Linked DNA regions of Homo sapiens: region 2 is linked to region 1. Evidence: promoter capture Hi-C in 16 types of primary human blood cells and fetal thymus (Javierre and others, 2016). All regions are on one chromosome and are shown on one strand. The core of a region is centred on a gene start or on the middle of the fragment in contact, and the rest is flanking DNA. Distances in the headings are between cores, read along the strand shown. Region 1 holds the start of PIK3AP1 (phosphoinositide-3-kinase adaptor protein 1). Region 2 has its middle 3.9 kb from the start of MIR607.

The links. Contacts are between HindIII fragments. The CHiCAGO score rates a contact against its expected background, and 5 or more counts as called.
Region 2: a fragment that was not itself captured here is called in contact with the fragment with the promoter of PIK3AP1 in region 1 in 3 of 17 cell types (neutrophils, naive B cells and monocytes); the score reaches 6.1 in neutrophils.

What each region holds. Positions count from the first base shown.
Region 1 is chr10:96,716,253-96,721,979 of GRCh38, forward strand. It overlaps PIK3AP1 (phosphoinositide-3-kinase adaptor protein 1), which reads right to left and starts at 4,262. Exons shown (of 17, transcript NM_152309.3): 1 at 4,130-4,262. The coding sequence starts at 4,142. RefSeq lists enhancers at 3,784-3,893, 4,744-4,853 and silencers at 4,024-4,273, 4,324-4,623. The HindIII fragment of the contact is 16,174 bases long and covers 1,061-5,727 here.
Region 2 is chr10:96,821,985-96,827,711 of GRCh38, forward strand. No RefSeq gene overlaps it. Among named protein-coding and RNA genes, the nearest start is that of MIR607, 3.9 kb to the right of the region's middle. The HindIII fragment of the contact is 6,725 bases long and covers 1-5,727 here.

The DNA of each region.
Region 1 (5,727 bases), core at 3,012-5,511:
GCCTGGATGACAGAGTGAGACCCTGTCTCATTAAATAAATAAATAAATAAATAAATAAATGCACAATGTCTCACTCCTGGGGTTCTAGTGTTAAATTCAATTCCCTTTGAGTGAAAGTATTTGAGGAGAAATTAATTACTGCCTCAGACTAGTTAACATTACAACCTATTTGGTCACTAACCTGTGGTGTGACTTAGACCAATTACTAAGTCTAGGCAAATTTGCCTTGATGTAAATGAGGACAATGAAATCTATCACCTTCCCGAATATTGCTGTGCTGGGAAACTGAAAGAAGGGGAAGTTTTTAAAAAGTCCAAAGTGAAAGTTCCAGTCCCTTTCTGATGTGCTGGGTAACAATATAGGACTAAATGCTTTGTCAGCAACTCTGCCTTATATGGGGGAAACTCCTTTCTTCAGCAATAATCCTCTTCCTTTAACCATAAGTAGCTTTTCCACTTATCCTCAATCACATCTCTCTTTTTTTTTGCTTGTTCATTTATTAAGAGAAATGAAACACATGAGCTAACAAGGAGTCTACAAGCCCTAGAAAGAAATGAGGAAGGGTCTTTCTTTGTCCTCGTAAAACGTCAAGAACAGGTTTGGCTACAGAAGGAGAAAGAAATGGATCACAGCAGAGGAAGGGGAGGCTGTAGCAGCAGGGAGTCCATGGGGTGAAAAGCTGGGGCTGAAAGAGAGGTGCCTTTGCAGGATTCAGAGCCCAATGGAGGGCCGAGCGTGGTGGCTCACACCTGTAATCCCAGCACTTTGGGAGGCTAAGGAGGGCAGATCACTTGAGGCCAGGAGTTCAAGACCAGCCTGGCATGGTGAAACCCTGTCTCTACTAAAAATACAAAAATTAGCTGAGTATGGTGGTGGGCACCTGTAATCCCAGCTACTCGGGAGGCTGAGGCACGAGAATCACTTCAACCTGGGAGGCAGAGTTTGCAGTGAGCCAAGATCGTGTCACTGCACTCCAGCCTGGGTGACAGAGTGAGACTCCGTCTCAAAAAAAAAAAAAAAAAAACTCACTGGAGAGAAGTACAGACAGGAAGTGCCAGAAAGCTTCTCAAACCACCCAGCCCAGACCATTTCTTCAGCCTATAGGTGACTCTGGCACCCCATTCATCCATCCTGGAGCCCCATGTTTGAATCTGAACACCATATTTGAAGAGGGATGAGAGATAGGGAAGGTGACCAGGATAAGGAGAGATGTGGTCAATCATATCAGGAGCTTCCCACCCCAGAAGTTGTTCAAATTTAGGTACTGGCAAGAGTATTGAGAGGCCTCAAGGATCACATGGAAGTTAAGGTCACAAAAAGGTTAAAAGTCCCTTCAAGCTCCATGGTCCTGTAAGTCCAGGAATAGTAGAAGGATCTAAAGAGAAGAGCCTTGGAGAGAGGGGGCAAGAGACGGTATGAGAGCTGATACACAGAGGAGAGAGTACTAGTCTTTCTTCACCCAGCCACAGACTTGGCCACTTGGGAAAGTCACTCACGGATCCTCTCTTTCCTCTCTCTCACGTGTAAATACACAAGATGCCATCAGGGGCCTAGAGAATTTTGTGGAATAGGCCAAGTCCATTTCATTTTATCTTCCTACCCAAGGTCCTTTCAAAGACAGGGAGCCTAACTTCTCCTGGATTTCAACAAGCAGACATCTTTCAGAAAACAATATAGACTAATGCTTCCCCTTCAGTGGAAGGGAATTTAAGAATTAGGCCATAAAAAGGAACGAAGTACTGATATAAGCTACAGTGGGATGAACTTTGAAAATATTATGCTGTACAAAGGAAGCCAGTCACCAAAGACCACATACTATGTGATTCCATTCATATACAAGCCCAGAGTAGAGAAATCTATAGAGGCAAAGTAGATCTTAGGGCTGGGAGAGGAGAGGAGAATAAAAGGTTGATACCTAAAGCATACAAGGTTTCTTTCTGAGGTGATGAAAATGTCCCAAAATTGACTGTGGTGATGGCTACACATATCTGTAAAGATACTAAAAACCACTGAATTGTATGCTTTAAATGGATGAATTGTATGGCATGTGAATTATATCACAATAAAGCTGCTTTTAAAAGAAAAGAAGAACATACAGAAGGGTGGCTGGATGACTCCAAAGCCCACAGCACCTTGGCGAGCGGCATTGCTCTCACCACTGTGATCTTCCCCCATGGGTCCTTGTACTTCCAAACCTCAGGGAACCCGAGGGACTCCAGAGACCCAACTCTCAATTACAGCACCTGGAGTGGTGTCTCGCCACAGAAGACGCAGACAGCAAGACAGTTTGACAGCTCTAACCATTACAAACACCTGCAGAAGCTGCTACAGAGCCCATAAATAGCCCCAGGTTTGCCCACCGGACTAGGGTCCCCCTCTGAACTGGAGCTCGCCTTCCTAGCTCCTTCGGCTGTGTCCACTGGAGAGAGGTACACAGGACGCTGGAAAAGAGGAAAAGAGAGGCCATTTTCTCAGACTCTTCCACCCAAAGGCCCTCCCAGTTTGCGGTTTCCTGGACTCAGCAGCCCAGGGCCTGTTCCTGACCATGGAAGGAGGAGGCGGCTTCACTGGTTTATTATCTGGCCTCATCTCCCTCTCCCCCACAGCCCACCTACTCCAGCCACTCTGGCCTACTCCCTTTCCTTTAACGCACCACATACACTCATTGCTTGGAGCACTCTTCCCCAAAGAGCCTCCTCCCCCTGGAAATCTTGGCTCAAATGTGCCTTTCTCCACCCTGGCCACCTCATTTGAAAATCCTAACCCCAGTCTCCCTCACCCTTCTTTATCGTTTTCCCATAACACATGTCATACCAGAGATTTTCCTTATTAAGTGTATATTACCTGCTATTACTAGGCCTCCTTATTCACAACACAGCTTCTTTTAGCCTCCAGAGCCCAGCTGGAGAGCCAGGAGGCTGTGATTAACTACCTTCCCATCCCCTTTAATGAGCCTGTAGTACATGGAACAATCACTCCTGGCCTTTTCTACCTCTGCTTCCGAAGCACCCTTACCAGACCCTCAGAGGATCTGGGGAGAGCTGGCTCTTCATTCCAGTGTTTGCTCACCTCCTGTAAGAACAGTGCCTTCTCCTGGCCACCTAGATTTTCTTTTTCAAGGGGCACCTGCAACCTGTTTTCACAGGTTATCCCTACTAAAACATCATAAAGTGGGCTGGGAAAATACAAGTAAACCCATTTGTAAACACTGTAACTCTACCTCCTCTCATCTAGTAATTCCTTGTTTACTTATTGCTTTCCTCTACAGGACCATAAACTCCTGGAGAGCAGAGACTAGGTGTTTCCTGCCCACCATGGAGAACATATTAGGTGCACAGTATCCATTGGAGTGCAATAGTAAGGACTCATTAATTGTCTCCGTTATCATCATTATGTGGCTTGTCCTGGATCTCCGTCAGTGAGCGACTTGCCAAGTGTGTACACCCATGAACCAGAAGGCAACCCAAGACCAGCCAGAAAAGACGCTTGGCACCCTTTGATGAGTACATTTACCCAGTGACCGCCAACTCTCCCCATTCCCCAAAGTTCTGCAAAGGACGCAGGAAAAGTAAAGTTCAAGGAATAGTGTTCCTAGATCCCTAGCAAAGTTCTAGACCCAAAACACAAAGCCTGGGAGGGGTGGAGGAACGGGGCTTGGGGAACTGTCCCAAGGGCCTCCCCGGCTGATCTCTCCGCACCACCTAGGACTGCCTGAGCGCCCCCTGTGGGTCCACGGAGCCCAGGAGACGCGTTTGGCCCTGTAGACCATCCACATCGCCCGCCCTCCGCTTCTCTCAACTCGCCTCTCGCTTCAGAGTCGGAGGGACAGGGGAAGCGACGCTCAGACACTCCTAGGGCCAGAGGTGGAGGGAGCGAAGGAGACCCTGAAGAAGTGGGAGGGGGTCGGGCCAGGCAGGGGCTGAAGAGAATCGCGCCACAGGCTGGGACGGGAAACGTGGGAAAGTTGGAGTGGGAAGTTTGCGACAGGGAACATAGAAAAGAGCAGAAAGAGGGCAAGATCCCCGCACAGAGGACGCAAACAGAAGCAAGCGGGGGAGCGCGCCTCAAGGGATGCGGGGTACGAGAGAGGGGCCGGGAGCCCGGGGACCCGCGGCGCCTGCCTACCCACCTGAGGCTGCCATGCCGCGGGGCGCCGCTCACATCCCTGGCTCGCTGCGTGCCCGGGGCCGGGACCGGGGCCGGCGGCGTCCTGGCTCGGGCTGGAGGGGCGCCGGGCTCCGCGCGGGACCGGCCGCCGCTCTGGCGCTTCCTCCCTCAGGGCAGCCCGGCCTCGCCACGAGGGCGTGTCCACAGAGTCCGCCCCGCCTGCGGGACTCGGCCCGCGGCACCTGCACCCGCGGCCGTTGGGGAGGGGAAGTGAGAACCCCATGCCGGCCGCCGGCCAGCTCCCCCCACGGCCCCCTGCTCAGGGGCAGCGAGAAGGCGGGGGCTTCGCGCCACGTGCGCCCCACTCCTCGGGAAACCAGCCCTGATCTGCCACCAAAGGGCAGCCCGAGGTGGAGGGGGTGTGGGGAGGAGGCGGAGGGGGAGAGTGTGGGGCTGCCAGGCCTCTGGGAGACAGGGCGGGGGTGTGTGTGTGTGTGAGCACCAGCTGTCCAAGCCACCTCCTCATCGCCTGGGGCTTTGTCCCTAAGCCCCTGCTGCCCCAGCAGGAAAGGGGAGGGGACAGGAAGGGGAAGAGGAGGAGGGCTGGGCACCTGGCCCTGGGTGCTCGGCGTTGCCCTTGAGTGCCCTCCTGTGATCTTTCTGCCGTTCCTTGGATCTGGTCTCCTGATGGCACATGAACATTAATTATAATGTCACATGATAAATGTCTAATAGAGTTTCTCTGCCATTCATTTCCTGTGTTCCTGTCTGCTGGGCGCTGCGTTTAGCACCTTACACACATTATCGCATTGCATCCTCACAGCAACCTTCTGAGGTAGCACCTATCACTGTCTTTACATTGGAGCCAAAGAAACAAGCCAAATACCTTGCTCAGGCTTCCACAGAGAACAAAAGCTCCCGGAGGTTCAGTACCAAGCCAGTCTGCTTCCAGAGCTAGAACTCTTGCTTAACCCTTGCCTTCACCTGCCCTCTTCTTGGACTCCTCCCTTTGCCTGCTGCCGAAATTCAACTGAATAGCACATCCCCTTGGAGTTCTCAACAATCCAGGGGCCAGAAGATGGACCCAGAGAGCAGAGATGAGGCAAGGTTAGGGCTGAAGTCCAGGTGGAAATAAAATGAAATGGATTTAAGAACGGGAATATCAGGATGAGGCCGTGCATTCATTTTCTTCTGTTGCCATAATAAATTACTACAAATTTAGTGGCTTAAAACAACACCAACTTATCATTTTACAGTTCTGTAGCTCAGAAGTGTGACATGAGTCTCCATCGGCTAAAATCAAGGTGGTGGCTGGGCTGGGTTTCTTTCTGCCAAATAGAAGGGAATCAATTTCCTTGGCTCTTTCAGCTTCTAGAAGCCATCCACATTCCTTGGCTCATGGCCTCCTTGTTCTATCTTCAAAGCCAGATGGCCCTGCTTCTGTCATCATATCCCTTTCTCTGACTCTCTTCTGTCTCCCTCTTCCAGTTTTAAGGATCCTAGTGGCCGGGCGCGGTGGCTCACGCCTGTAATCCCAGCACTTTGGGAGGCCGAGGCGGGCGGATCACGAGGTCAGGAGATCGAGACCATCCCAGCTAAAACGGTGAAACCCCGTCGCTA
Region 2 (5,727 bases), core at 1,122-3,621, 100 kb after region 1:
TCACCTGAGGTCAGGAGTTCAGACTGACCAACACAGTGAAACCCTGTCTCTACTAAAATACAAAAAAATTAGCTGGGCATGGTGGTGCATGCCTGTAATCCCAGCTACTTGGGAGGCTGAGGCAAGAGAATTGCTTGAACCCAGGAGGCGGAGGTTGCAGTGAGCCAAGATCACGCCAGTGCACTCCAGCCCGGGCGACAGAACAAGACTCCATCTCAAAAAAAAAAAAAAAAAAAATTCAAGATTTTACCATAAGACCCAATCACGTCAAAAGGTGATATGATCTGCAGAGACAGCATCTGTGGAGTGGGCTTTAGGGAGGGTTTTAGTATCTTTGTGGGGGATCCATAAAATCCATGATTTACATGGATTATATCAGTTAATCCTCACAACAACTCTTTGAGGTAGGTAGTATTATTAGCCCCTTTTTACTGATGAGCAAACTGAGGTTTAGAGAGGTTAGGATTCAAACCCAAGGAATGAAAGAAAAGCTAAAGTTGTTCATCTGTGGTCTAAGATAGGAGTAAAATGGAAGAATGAGCAGATGGAAGAGAAAGAGAAGACATAACATCTAGATACAGAATAGGCCAGAGTCCTCAAACTTTTGTTATCCACAGAGAGACCCTTTTCTAGTTATGGCTTTAGCTGCTGAGAAAAATCATGCCAGACTGAACACATTTGTCTTTAAATAGCTTACATTCTATGTTGGGAGAACAAAGTATTAAAATTTGATGAGGAGGACACAATTCGCCCAAAAGCTCAGGACCACCACAGGTGATGTCTCACATGTCAGTAGGTGATTCTATTAATTAATTAATTAATTAATTAATTTATTTATTTAGACAGGGTCTCACTCTGTTGCCCAGGCTGGAGTGCAGTGTCGCTGTCTCGACTCACTGCAATCTCTACCTCCTGGGTTCAAGTGATTCTCCCCCCTCAACCTCCCGAGTAGCTGGCAGTACAGGCACCTGCCACGACACCAGGCTAATTTTGTACTTTTAGTAGAGACAGGGTTTCATCTTGTTGGCTAGGCTGGTCTCAAACTCCTGGCCTCAAGTGATCCACCCGCCTCTGCCTCCCAAATTGCTGGGATTACAGGTGTGAGCCACTGTGCCCAGCCTTATTTTATTTTTGAGACAGGGGTCACCCAGGCTGGAGTGTAGTGGCAGGATCATAGCTCACTGCAGCCTTCATCTCTCAGGCTCAAGCAATCCCTCCCCTTCAGCTTCCTGAGTAGCTAGGACAACAGGTGCACGCCACTACGCCCTGCTAATTGTTTTTTATTTTTGTACAGACGGGATCTCACTTTGTTCCCCAGGCTGGTCTTGAACTCCTGGACTCAAGAGATCCTCCCTCTTCAGCTTTCCAAAGTGTTGGGATTACAGGCATGAGCCACCACACCCAGCAGTAATTTTCAAATAAATTGTGCATATAGTAAATTTTACCTGAGGAGTGAAGTAAAGGTTAGTTGTGTCCATCTCCAGATCAACTTGACCCCTTCAAGGCTACTTCTCATTCCTGCAAAGGACAGCAGGATTCATGTAAAAGAGTATCCCTGTATTCGCTATGCAATTGATGATCTAGATTTGGAGTGCTTTGCTTTGCCTGATTGTCTTCTCTTTCTTTGTAGGTTTCCGTAGGTTTCCTACCAAAATGTATGACTGAGTCTAGTCATGAGAAAACAGTGGACAGTGGCTGGGCGTGGTGGCTCATGCCTGTAATCCCAGCACTTTGGGAGGCCGAGGTGGGTGGATCACCTGAGGTCAGGAGTTCGAGACCAGCCTGACCAACATGGAGAAACCCCGTCTCTACTAAAAATACAAAAAAAAAATTAGCCAGGCGTGATGGCGCATGCCTGTAATCCCAGCTACTCAGGAGGCTGAGGCGGGAGAATTGCTTGAACCTGGGCAGCGGAGGTTGTGGTGAGCCAAGATTGTGCCATTGCACTCCAGCCTGGGCAACAAGAGCAAAACTCCGTCTCAAAAAAAGAAAAAGAAAACAGTGGACAGTGGACATACACACCTGATATTTAGGGATGACGGTGTAGCCAGTGTGTAGCTTTTCATCTGATTATTCATATAAAGACTCAGGAGGCTGGGCATGGTGGCTTATGGCAGTAATCCCAGCACTTTGGGAGGCCTAGGCGGGCACATCACTTGAGGTCAGGAGTTTGAGACCAGCCTGGCCACCATGGTGAAACCCTGTCTCTACTAAAAATACAAAAAAAAAAAAAATTATCCAGGCTTGGTGGTGCATGCCTGTAGTCCCACCTACTCGGGAGGCTGAGGCACGAGATTCGCTTGAACCTGGGAGGCGGAGGTTGCGGTGAGCCGAGATTGCACCACTGCACTCCAGCCTGGGCAGAAAAAAAAAAAAGACTCAGAATAACAACAATAAAACCATATAGTAGGTACATGCAGAGAGAGTGAAATAAAATATGTTAAAATATTAAAACTTGGGGAATCTGAGTGAGGGGGACATGAGAATTCTTGTAACTTTTTGGTCACTTGAAATTATTTCAAAATTAATATGGAACACATTCATATTCATAATAAACATAAAACATACGTCTACACAAAAACTTGTACACAAATGTTCACAGCTGCATATTCATAATAGCCAAAAAGTGAAAACAATGAAAATATACATCAACTGAAATACATAAACAAAATTTTGTATCTAAATGATGAAATATTTAACAAGAAAAAATTAAAAAATAGATATAGGCCAGGCTCAGTGGTTCATGGCTGTAATCCCAGCACTTTGGGAGGCCAAGACTGATGGATCACTTGAGGTCAGGAGTGCGAGACTAGTCTGGCCAACATGATGAAACCCTGTCTCTACTAAAAATACAAAAATTAGCTGGGTGTGGTGGTGCACAACTGTAATCACAGCTATTTGGGAGGCTGAGACAGGAGAATCACTTGAACCGAGAGGCAGAGGTTGCAGTGAACCAAAATAGTGCCATTGCACTCCAGCCTGGGCGACAGAGTGAAACTCCATCTCAAATAATAAAAATAAAAAGTAAATACAGATACATACTACAACATAGATCAACCTTTGTTTAACAGGTTGCTATGAAAAAACTATATAGATGAACCTTAAAAACATGCTAAGTGAAAGCAGCCAGTCACAAAATACCGCATATTGGCTGGGCACAGTGACTAATGCCTATAATCCCAGCACTTTGGGAGGAGGCTGAGGTGGGCGGAACACTCGAGCCCAGGAGTTCGAGACCAGCCTGGGCAACATGGTGAAACCTGTCTTTGCAAAGAAAAAAAAAAAAAATCCCTCCAAAATTAGCCAGGCTTGGTGGCACATGCCTGTAGTCCCAGCTACTCCAGAGGCTGAGGTGGGAGGATTACTTAAGCTCAGGAGGCAGAGGCTGCAGTGAGCCAAGATTGCACCACTGCACTCCAGCCTGGGCACCAGACCAAGACTGTGTCAGAAAAAAAAAATCACATATTGCATGATTTTATTTATGTGAAATGTCCAGAATAAGAAAACTCATAGAGAAAAAACTAGATTTGGCCAGGCACGGTGGCTCACGCCTGTAATCCCAGCACTTTGGGAGGCAGAGGCGGGTGGATCATGAGGTCAGGAGATCGAGACCATCCTGGCTAACACAGTGAAACCCCGCGTCTACTAAAAATACAAAAAATTAGCCGGGCGTGGTGGCGGGCGCCTGTAGCCCCAGCTACTCGGGAGGCTGAGGCAGGAGAATGGCGTGAACCCGGGAGGCGGAGCTTGCAGTGAGCCGAGATTGCATCGCTGCACTCCAGCCTGGGCGACAGAGCGAGACTCTGTCTCAAAAAAAAAAAAAAAAAAAAAAAGAAAAAACTAGATTTGTTGTTGCCAGCGGGTGAGGAGATGGGGAATGATGAATAACTGCTGATATTTCAGGGTTTCTTTCTGGGGTGATGAAATGTTCTAAAAGTGATTGTGGTGATGGTTGCACAACTTTGTGAATATACGAAAACCCCCTGAAGTGTACATTTTATTCTTTTATTATTTTGTAATGGTACTAAGTTCTAAAGATAGTAGAAAAGCTAATATCATCAAGTTCCTTAAATGATAGTAAGAAAACCTTCCGGGCTGGGCGTGGTGGTGGGTGCCTGTAATCCCAGCTACTTGGGAGGGTGAGGCAAGAGAACTGCTTGAACCCGGGAGGTGGAGGTTGCAGAAAGCTGAGATTGTGCCACTGCACTCCAGCCTGTGTGATAGAGTGAGACTCTGTCTCAAAAAAAAAAAAAAAAAGAAAGAAAGAAAGAAAAGAAGGAAAGAAGGAAAGAAGAAAGAAAGAAAAGAAAAGAAAGAAAGACTTCTGATGCCAGAAGCCCCCTCCATCAACAATCTGTCGAGCAATGTTCTTCACTCAGAGGCTCCCATCTGACACTAGGTAGGGAAGGCGTTGGTGCCCTTTGCCCATAACTAGCCCATGACAGAATGCTGCCTTGGACAGAGCCCTCACTCACTCCAAAGAGGCCAGGAATGCTAGGTAGGGAGGAATTTACATGCCTAGGCCAGCTCTGGACCAGCCCCAGTCCTATGGTACAGAGAAGGACAGTGGCAGCTAACGAGCTTGGAAAAGTCCAAAGCCAGCCTTGTTTAACACCAGTAACAATTTTACCTCTACACTGAGGGCTAACATGCATCCAATTCCAGTTCCTCTTTCTCCATCTAAGTAACTCCAGAGGTGGCACTAAGCCTGGCCCACTCACACAATCTAGGACAGAGCAATAGTCAGACATCTCAATGGGCTCAGCTTCCCAGTAATAGGAGTTACTGAGAACAGCACTGGGGGAGCCTCTGTCCATGTCAAAAAGGAGCATCTAAGAGGGGTTACTGCCATAACTCCATCCTTCTTGCTGTGCTTTGAGAAACAGAAGCCAAATCCTACCTCCCTTCAAAGAGCTCTAGTTGCTATGGGAACCAATCCCACCCCCCACTTGAGTCCCGAGACTTAGGAGGGTATGGAGCCAGGAGGAGGCTCCCGGGTGTCTCAAGAGCAGCCACACTTCTCTATCAAGGATGCGTTCACACAGTGAACGCTCATCTTACGTTCGTCATCCTGGACCGTTAGGGAGAAGAGAATGACCTTGGTGGGACTACAGGTCTGAAAGAGCCAGGAACAGATCAATAGGCACTCCCCTCTTATAGTGCAAACTTTGAGTGCAAAGTTGGATTGATGAAGCTCACTGTTGAGGGTCAGGCAGGTCCCCTGACAGTAAGGGAAGCTGGAAGTCTTGGGTGCAACAATACACTCACCGCAGGCAGCTCTGTGAAGGTTCACCTTGCAATCCTGCAGATGACAGAGCTTCTCTGCTGGAAATATATCCTGGCCATGGTCTATCTCCCCATGATTCTGGCATGGGATCCCCAGAGTCAGCTGCTCCACAGTAGGGATAAAGCATTTCTGGACGTAAGGCAGGTGAAACAGAGGTGGCTGTGTTGGGGACAAGGTCATGAACAGCAACACTATGTCTCACTTGCCTTTGATACTAAAACACTGGTTCAGGCTGGGGTCAGACGCATTAGTAGCTGTAATCTTTTCCTCTGCCAAGAGGGTGGGCACCACCTCCATCCAATATATTAGTAAACAGTAGATCTCCAATAATGATCCTCCTTTCTGACTGGTAGGATGAAAAGATAATGGGGAAAGAGCCCAAGAGGAATCTTTCGCAGTTGGTGGTGGTTGGGGGGCAGGGGTTGATGGGTCTTGAACTC